2 separate regions of the Homo sapiens genome follow, and region 1 is linked to region 2. Evidence: promoter capture Hi-C in 16 types of primary human blood cells and fetal thymus (Javierre and others, 2016). All regions are on one chromosome and are shown on one strand. The core of a region is centred on a gene start or on the middle of the fragment in contact, and the rest is flanking DNA. Distances in the headings are between cores, read along the strand shown. Region 1 overlaps GLB1L3 (galactosidase beta 1 like 3). Region 2 holds the start of IGSF9B (immunoglobulin superfamily member 9B).

The links. Contacts are between HindIII fragments. The CHiCAGO score rates a contact against its expected background, and 5 or more counts as called.
Region 1: a fragment that was not itself captured here is called in contact with the fragment with the promoter of IGSF9B in region 2 in 4 of 17 cell types (activated CD4 T cells, total CD8 T cells, naive CD4 T cells and 1 more); the score reaches 9.9 in activated CD4 T cells.

What each region holds. Positions count from the first base shown.
Region 1 is chr11:134,314,480-134,319,556 of GRCh38, forward strand. It overlaps GLB1L3 (galactosidase beta 1 like 3), which reads left to right. Exons shown (of 20, transcript NM_001080407.3): 19 at 4,152-4,268; 20 at 4,398-5,077. The coding sequence ends at 4,463. It also overlaps the pseudogene LOC100421417. Among named protein-coding and RNA genes, the nearest start is that of GLB1L2, 15 kb to the right of the region's middle. The HindIII fragment of the contact is 698 bases long and covers 2,414-3,111 here.
Region 2 is chr11:133,954,002-133,958,649 of GRCh38, forward strand. It overlaps IGSF9B (immunoglobulin superfamily member 9B), which reads right to left and starts at 2,967. Exons shown (of 20, transcript NM_001277285.4): 1 at 2,690-2,967. The coding sequence starts at 2,753. RefSeq lists a silencer at 2,796-3,145. The HindIII fragment of the contact is 2,603 bases long and covers 1,250-3,852 here.

The DNA of each region.
Region 1 (5,077 bases), core at 1,513-4,012, 360 kb after region 2:
CAATTTTATTTTTAAAGAGTCCTGAAGCAAAGCCAGCGTTCCTGGAGGAATACTTCCCTTTCTTCTTTTCCTCTTCTTCCTCATCTCCAACCAAGCCTTCCAACATTGATCAGTCTTCCTAATTTATCACTGTTCAGAGAATAACACATCAAAGCACAATTAAAAATTCAAACAATAACAAGAGGGAGAGAGCAAAGCATGAAGTTCGCCTTTGAACCCACCCCCATTCCAATTAGTCTCTGCTTCTCAGAACTCAACACTGCCAACAGTGGTACATTTTTATATATAACTTTGCCTGAACACACACGTACACAATTATTTTTACACTAATAGAATTGTACTATGTATTCTGAAGCTTGCCTTTTTTTTCTGTGTGGGGTGAGTTGGTAAGTTAGTTTTTACTTAGAATATCTTTTTCTGTATAAATACACATAGATAACATAAATGTACAAAATGTGAATGTACAGATCAACAAATGATCACAAAGTGAACACCATATAATTATCACTGAAAGTTAAAAATATTGTTGGCACCCCTCCCAACTGCTGCCTTGACTTCTAACACCCTAGGCCAGTGTCTCCTATTTTGACTTTATGTAAATGGAATCATACAGGGCATCTTTTTTAAATATGTTTTCTTTTGTTCAACATTGTGAGGTTCAGCCATTTATCGATGTTGCAGTGATTTGTTCATTTTCACTGTTGTATTGGGTTCATTTAGTAAATACATTATAATAATTTATTTAACCATTTTACTTTTTCTGAACATTTGGATTATATCTAGGGCTTGTCTATGGTAAATAATTAAGACTTCGTTTGTGTTTATGTTCATAACTGAGATCTCTTTGTCAGGTTTTGGTGCCAATGTTTAGGGATCTCATAAAGGATTTAGGAAGGCGAATTTGTGTAAGACAAGTATCACTTCTTAAACATTTAATGGAGTTCATTAGTGAAGCCTTCTAGAGCTGGCATTTTCTTTTTGAAAAAGTGTGTGAGTGTGGATTCAATTATTGAAAGATTAAAGTACTATTCAGATTTTGTTTCTTTTAAAGTTAGCTTTGAGAAAATATATTTTTCTGGAAATTTTCCCATTTCATCTAAATTTTCAAATATATTGCCTTTAAAATATTCGTTTTTGATGTCTAGATCATTGGTAGTAACGTTCCCCTTGTCATTTGTTACAGGATATCGATGCACTCTTTTTTCTTGATAATTCTCACCAGAACACTATCAATTTTATTAATTGTTCAAAGTACAGTGTTTGGCTATGACTCTTACTGTGTTAAGTATTTATTTTCTGATTCTGTCATTATCTTTATTATTTTGTTTATTCAATTTCTTAGTTTAGGATTAATTTGCTTTATTTTTATAATGTCTTGACATAGATACTTAGATAATGGACTTTCAGTCTTTGTTCTTTTTAATTATATGAATTTAGGTTATTAATCATCATTTACGCGTGGATTTGGTTGCATCCTCTAAGTTTTAAAAAGATTTTTTGAGGTAAAATTACATAACATAAAATTAGTTCTGTTAAAGTGAACGATTAAGTAGTCTTTCATGCCTTCACAATGCTATGCAGCCTCTATCTCCAGTTCCAGCACATTTTCATTATCCTATAAACATTGGGCAATTACTTCTCCATTTTCCCCTTCTCCCACCGCCTGGCAACAGCAATCTTTTTATTATCTTTATGGATTTGCCTATATTGGAAATGACTCCCATACCTTTTTTTTTTTTACACGTAGAATAAGAATAAATTTATTGTATTTATTTTCATGACTGAAGAATTACATTCTTCAAAGCAAGAATTCAGAATGTACATAATTATAAGCCATATTTCATATCAGTGCATTATTTTTATATTATACTTTCTATTATATGGGTAATGGTTCATATTGAAATACAGAAAAAATAAGTTGTAAGACAAGCGATGTCTATATAGGAAGAGATGAATCATTTTAGTGTCTTATTAGTTGGATAATTGCTGCTTTAAGGTTGCCATGTTAGCCTAACAGTTTAATCATAACTATAAATTCTATCTAAAAAATAATAAAGGTTTCATAACAAACAGCTGATACTAAAGGTGAGCACTTCACCTGTAGGTGCTTCTCTGAAGGTGTCAAGTAGACTTCGGTATGTGCATTTTAGAATGTCTTAAAGATGATTTTGTAAGGAGCTGGCAGGCAAATTAAGCCCAACAAAAGAGAAGGTCTGCAAATTATCCTGCAGGTTAGGGCCAATCTTCTTGAGTCTGCTAGGAATTATAAAATACCTACTCTTGCTCTTTCACCTCTAAGTTTTAAGTTGGAATTTTACTTTTCCTTCATACGGCTGTGTGGATTGTTGAAGGTCACATGCTTCACAAGCACTTGCCCATAATGACAACTTCCATGTTTTGGGGGACATTGAGAAGCTTCCCTGGGTCCAGAACTTTGCTATAGTAGGGCTGTGCTTTCTTCTCATATTAAGGCAAATAGTGTAGACCGAAGGCGCCATTTGGCAGGTAGTATTCAACCTGAGGCACTGGATGTCCTGGAGGCAGTGTCCAGAAAGCTGCAGGCCACTCTGGGGGCCATGTTGTTGCCGGGGGGAAACTTGATGATCTTTACCAATCAGTTTATACTTTTTGTGGATTCTTGGTACTGTTTAAGTTCCTTTCTTTTCAAGTTGAAGGACTTCCTTTAGCACTTCTTGTAAAGCAGGTCTAGTGGCGATGAACTCCCTCAGTTTTTGTCTGGAAGTCTTTATCTCTTATTCATTTTTGAAAGACAGTTTTGCTGGATGTAGTATTCTTGGTTGCCAGTTGATTTTTCTTTTAGCATTTTAAATATATCGGTCCATTCCACGCTAGCCTGCAAGGTTTCTGCTGAAAAATCTGCTGATAGTCTTATACCCTACAAGTTTCTATCAATTTTATCATCATCATCAAAGAATTCAAATATTTTCCAACTTCCTTTGTCATTACTTGTTAGATTTATGGTTTATTTAGAAGTGCTTTTCTTAATTTCCAAGAATTTGGATATTTTAGGGTTATCTTTTTTATCAGTTTCTTTCTTAAATGCATTATAGTCTGAGAAGTTTATGTGAAGACTAGTTTAATACAGGATCAAGCTTGTAAATATTCTGAGGTATACTTGAAAGAATATGTGTATACTGTAGATGTTAGATCAATGTTCTATTATGTCAATTAGTTCAATTTTGTTAATCATCTTCTTTTAAATGTTTTATGTCTTTATTGATTGTTATTTGCTTTGCCTATTGACTATTGAAAGGTTGTATAAAAATTTCCCGCTATGGTTGTAAATTTATTTATTTCTCTTCTGTCAATTTCGCTGATATGTTTTGAATCTCTGCTTTTATCTTTCTTATGTATGTTGTATATACATTTTTGGTAAATTAAGAATTTTACCATCATGAAATGTCCCTCTTTATCTCTAATAATGCTTCTTGCCTTAAAGTATTATTTTTCTGAATATTAACAGAGCTATAGCAACTTCCTTTTGGTTAGGGTTTACATATCATTATCCATTGTTTTTCTTTTATTTTTCCAATGCCTTATGTTTTTGATGCTTCTCTTATATGTAGCATATAACTACTTTATTTGAAATCAAGACCAGCAACCTTTGCCCTTTAATTTGAAGCATTTCAGAGACTCCAATTTTATGTGCTAGACTGTTTTGTTATATCCCAGAATAAGCAGGTGCCTCTAGTGGAAAAACTGCCTAGATGTCTCCTTGTCTCTCCATTTTCTTCTTCTAGATCTTGATCCTGTAATTCTTCATTATATTGCAAGCAGATTTTTAAAAATGTGCAGCTTTTATATTAATAGCCACTGTCAGCAGTGGTGTTCATCACTATTACCTGATATTTATTTCTGGAAGTAGAAGATCTGCTTTTTAAAATATATAACATTATATATCACATAACAGGAACAATAGCAGCCTTACCATTAAAGGGTTGGTTCTATTTATGCTTTTCTCTTTCATTCCTAGACAGCAAGGTAGAAGTTCTATAACATATCCCACTCTAAACTCACCTTCATTTGAGTGCCATAAAGTATCTCAATCTTGCTCTCACTCTCCAAGTGCCTTAGGTTTTACCTTGCTAATGTGAACCAATTTCCAAATCTCAAGCCACCATTCCTTTCAGAACTGGAATTATGGATTTGTGTTCATCAATGGACGTAACCTTGGGCGATATTGGAATATTGGGCCTCAGAAAACACTGTACCTTCCTGGAGTTTGGCTTCATCCAGAAGACAATGAGGTATGTCACTCCAGTCTCTGCCTTGAGATCTCATAAACTTTCAGATCAAAATGTGAGTTGCAGTGTCTTTTTCAACCTGTACTAAATAGGCTTCACCTTTCCCACTGTCAACCTTTCTTTTCTTCTCAGGTCATCTTGTTTGAGAAGATGATGAGTGGCTCAGATATCAAATCTACAGACAAGCCCACGCTGTAAAACTGTGTCTGAACATTTTTTTTTTTTTTTGAGATGGAGTCTCACTTTGTCGCCCAGGCTGGAGTGCAGTGGCACAATCTCTGCTCACTGCAAGCTCAGCCTCTCGGGTTCACGCCATTCTCCTGCCTCAGCCTCCCCAGCAGCTGGGACTACAGGTGCACGCCACCACGCCTGGCTAATTTTTTGTATTTTTAGTAGAGATGGGGTTTCACCAAGTTAGCCAGGATGGTCCCAATCTCCTGACCTTGTGATCTGCTCTCCTCAGCCTCCCAAAGTACTGGGATTACAGGCGTGAGCCACCACTCCCGGCCGTGAACATATTTTTTGGGTTGCTGGAGTTCATCTATAAGTCATTTTTGAGGAATAAGATTTATGTTAAGACTATCAAACACAGTGTTGCCTACAATAGCAAAAATGTGAAAATAACAACAACAACAAAACAGCAGAGGAATTGTTATGTATTTTGTAGTCTATCTATATGATGCCTATTTTTAGGCTTTAAAAAGTCTTCAAAATCTTTAATGACTGATTTATCTAGTTAAATGCTTAATCCTTAGCAGGCTCTTATTCTTTAATTAAACGTGCCTTTGAGTAGATGTGAATAAAATAAAAAC
Region 2 (4,648 bases), core at 1,717-4,216:
AACATCATCCCTTTCCCCCTCTGCCAGAGCAGCCCCTGCTATGGCCAAATCCTAAGGGTGGCATCTCAAAGTCCCTCCTGCTGAGGGACTGCCCCAGAAGTCACCTCTGCCAGTCAGGGAACAGCTGAGCTCTCACAGGGAGACTCAGCAGCATGTGGACACTGGCTGGTGCTGCTCACACGAGCGGGCGCCCACCCGCTCTCTCCAGAGGCTGTGTGTTGCAAGCCCTCACTTCCCGGGCTGTGTCCTTCCATAAACCTCTGGCCACCAACAACACTCCAGCTTTGGAGACCTTGCAAAGGACTTCCGAGCAGCTTTGAGGCCCGCACATCCTGCACACGTGTCCCTGGGATGCCAGGGACAAGAGGTTCTGCCCAGACAAGGTCAGCCCAGAAAGGGGTCTTACTTCCTGACACAGGCAGCCTTCTGAACTTCCCCGCAACACATTCTCAGCTCCTAGTGCCCTGAATGGCCCAAGGGAAAGAAATTGAGGAGGATCTTGGAATCCCAGGGACACTGAGAAAATAATGTTAATGTTTACTGAGCACGTACTATATAACAGGTAGTTGTTTTGTTTCCTTATAACACTCATGTCCACCTAAAAACCCTAAAAGTACATGCTATTGGCACATTTTCTATTGAAGCAAGTGACATTTAGAGAGGTTGAGAATTTGTCCAAGGTCACAGGGTCGGCAGGTGACACAGCCAGAATCTGAATCCCAGTCATATGGCTCTAGACCTAGGTCCTTAACTACCACACACAGAGCAATTGAGGCTAAGAAAGACCCCAAGACCAGCAAGGTCACCCTCTGCTTCCAGACAGGGGTACATGTCCAGCCATTCCAGACAGAAGGACCCCTCTGCACCCTGAAAGAGGGCATAACCTTCATGCCAGGCAGCCTTCAATTTTGGGAAGCCCTTCCTTCTATCTTGCGATTCTGCGTGTTGCTGCAGTATAAACTCACATTCCTTTATTCTGGGCTGAAACTTGCAAAGAAGTCCATTGCCCACCCTGACTTAGGTTCGGAGGCTATTTCAGAGCCTTCCTTCAGCGTCTCTTTTCTATTCAAAGATCCCAGCTCATCCTTTTGTGCTTTCAGGGACAGTCCCATAGCAGGAACATACCAAAAACGGGAGGGGAGGAGGATGCGGGCATTGGAAGACGGCAAGGAAATGGGGGAGAGGATGAGGCTACAGGCAGACTGTCAAGCGCAGCCCGATGCACCTCACATCCACCCCCCGTTCCGTAAGCTTCCGCCATCACCCTTGCCTCAGTGTTCCCACCTGACAAATGAAGAGTTTTAAAACCGTCCGGACCAACATGTCAGTTAACAAAATCACCCTTCGCTTCGCCCTCTGCTCGTTCTGTTTTCAGACACCACCACCCCCCTCAGAAGCAGAGGCGACATATTCATTCCATTCCGGAAAGTTTCCTGAAGCACGCCCCCCTGCACAGACGAGTGACGAGGGGACCCCGTGAGAGGCGCCTCCAGCCCACCCGGCGCCCCATGCCGCTGGGAGAGGGTTCTCTGTCGGCGAGTCCTGCCTGCTGACTCCCACCCACAGCGGGTTCTCTCCCGCCGCCATCTCCTCCGGCTTGGTGAACTTGCCCGCAGCCGGGTCGTGTCTGCGCGCTGACAGCCCTGAGCTCACAGTCCTGGCACCCTCCAGGCTCCGCTCCCACTTCCATACAAGGGCCGAGAGCCGGGGGTGCCACCCAGAGGCTTGTAGGTCGCTCTGCCCATCTCCAAAGCAAAAGCCCGCGCGCTCACGCACGCATCACCCAACTCGGTGGCTCCCCCCTTGCGTCTCCCCCAGCTCAGACCCAGGAAAGCGGAAAGAGAAAATCCCCCCTCCGCTCGGATTCACAGCGTGGGGACCCCCCCTTCCCCGCCCCTCCCCTCCCCCGCCGCCGCCCCCAGCCAGCTCTGCCTCGCAGCCTGGGGAGGGCGGCGTGGGGCCCGCGCGGCTGCGGCGCGCTCCCGGGGAACTTTTGCCTGGCCGGGGCCCAGGTGCGGCTGAGAGGCGCGGGGGCCGGCGGGGTCCAGCCAAAAGCGGACACACCTCGAAGCTGGCCTCATCAATCCTCCTCTCACCGGGCGCCCCTGCTAGGGGGATCCGACCTCCAGCTGCCAAGATGTGTGGGCAGGAGGGGCGCGAGCGGAGCGATGGACGCCCGCAGGGCCGCGCGAACCCGGGGCCTTAGACGCGGGTGCCGCCAGTCCCAGGGATCCTCCGGGTCGCGCCTCCCTGCAGGCGCTCCTCGCGGCGCGGGGCTCTAGCGTGCTGCAGCCTGCCCGGAGACCGCAAACTCCCGCAGCCAGAGTTTCCCGCAGCTCTGGGAGGCGGCCGCCGGGCAGGAGGCGACGGGCTAGGCGCGCCGGTGTGCACCGTGGGGCCCGTGGTGGGCGAAGTCGACCCAGGTTCCACTGCGTCCTTTCCCCGAGTGCCCGGCAGCCCGTGGGCTCTGGCCCCTTCCCGCCCGCCCCTCCAGCCCACGGCCCCCAGGCCCTCCCCGGCAATGCTCCCGGGCCGCCTGGCCCGCGTCGGAGCCCAAGCCTCACCCGCGGGAAGGCGCGCCGGGGAGCTGGGGAACCGGGGGGCCAAGGAGCCGGGAAACCGAGGGGCCGGGCGCGAGGGGCCGAGGGCGCCGGGAGGGGCAGGGGAGGGACGCCGCACTTCAACTCACCTTCAGCCGCAAGCCCTCGGGTGCCGATCACACTTGCTATGAAAGTGGCCACATACCAAATCATAGTACTACCGCGCCAGCCCGGAGCCTCATCCTATCGCAAAGTGCTCCCGCGCCCGCACGCGCCTCGCGCCCGAGCGCCCGCCTCGCGCCCGCCTCGCGCCGCCTACGCCCCGCGCCGGTGCTCCTGCAGCCCGGGTGGCCAGCTCTCCATCCCTCCTAGGCTCCGCTCGGCTCGGCGCGCGCCTCCCCGGCCCCGGCGCAGCGGCACCTGCACTACTCGCCCGGGCGGAGCGCAGCCAGGTCCACGGTGAAGCCTAGCCGGGCCGGGCCTCCGGAACCGCCCCCGCCGCCCGCCTATTGGGCGCCGCCCGCAAGCCGGGGGTCCGATTGGCTCAGCCTTCCGCCCGTCGCGGCGCGAAGGAGGCGAGCCCATTTCAAGGTGCGTTGAAGTGTGGCGAGCACAGAGCCGCAGAATCATGCGCATTGCCGGGGAGAAGGTGGTATAGCGTCTCTGCCCGCTTCTCTCTCGGCTCACACTGCGTGGCAAGTTTCTGGTGAGGGAAATGGTAGCTTCTAACGGGACCCTGGCGGGTCTCAATTACCCCGGACAGGTCTGAGGGAAGTGGAGCCCCCGCCCACTCATGGAACCCAACATCCGGTTTCCATCCGGCAAAAAGCAGTTCCCGAGAGGACCATGCTGATTCTATGATGGGGAAACCCAGGAGCCGGCGGCCCGGGAGAGCCGGGGAACGTCCTTCGCCGGAGATCTTTTCAAAGAGGTCACGCGCCGCCTCCCCACCCCGTCTCCCTCCGCACCCAGACACGTCCCCAGAGCAGCGCACCACCCCCTCCAAACGTGATGCAGACCGGGGGATGACTAAAATGACCTCTCAAAGTCGCTAAGATTTAGAGTGAGTCATTGGCTCAGCTGCGAAGTGCCACAGACCCCTCAGGAACACTCGTGCACACACACTCCACCCCCAGTGCTGGTCACTGCTGCTCATCATTACTGAATCCCGACTCCAAGCAGTCAAAGTTGGGTCTTTTTCCCACTTCTCCTGATAAAGGCTGCTTCCTCACGCACATGGTTCCTCCCCTCTCCACCTTACTCGGAGCCCAGCCCCGACTCGGCCGCATGAAACCAAGATGGGTTTGGGGGAAGCTTTAGGAGTCTGGGATGGAGGAGACCCAGGGAAAGGGAAGGAGCTTCTCATCCTACAGAGGAATGTAAATAGGAAACTGGAAGGTCTTCGTATGTTCCAGTCTCCCTACCCTAGCCTGTCTGCTTCCCCTCCCCCAATACAGTTGTATTTGCAGAAGAAATAAATGAGTGTCATGGAAACATCTACTACAAACAATCACCTCACACCAGCGCTCAGAGGCTGCAGTGAAGATGTTTGTTCTTTCAAGGAGTGAAGGCAGTGGTAAGAATCACACCGCTCCCTGGGATGGGCTGTTGGCCAAGGAAGGAAGGCAGAGGGTCAGCGAGCGAGAGCTCAGGAATTTCATCCTCTCAAAGCACTCGTTAGCCACAAAGCCCTGGCTCCAGGACATGAAGCTCCCAAAACAACAAGAAGGAGACTTGCTTCTGGGAAAGCGTGCACACAGGTACACACACATGCACAAAAAGTGGCCTTGAACACCGGAGGTGGAGCATTCCCTGACACCGGAAGCCTCTTAGCTCACCGCCAGCTGGGAGGCAGAAAGAGGCCCCCAACAGAGCAGTCAGTGAGCACATGGATAAAGGTCGAGGGCCTGGATAGATCCAGAGAACCAGGACTGTTGAATAACCTTCTACCCTACCCACCCCTCCACCTGTGCAAACACACTCAAGATGCATAACTTGGGGCCATCTCTCCCTGAGCCATGATTTTGGTTCTCTTCTTGGGCAAAGATGCCTTTCTGGGGACAATGAAGTGAGCTGCTCCAGGTCTCATTGATGCAGTGATCTCCAGG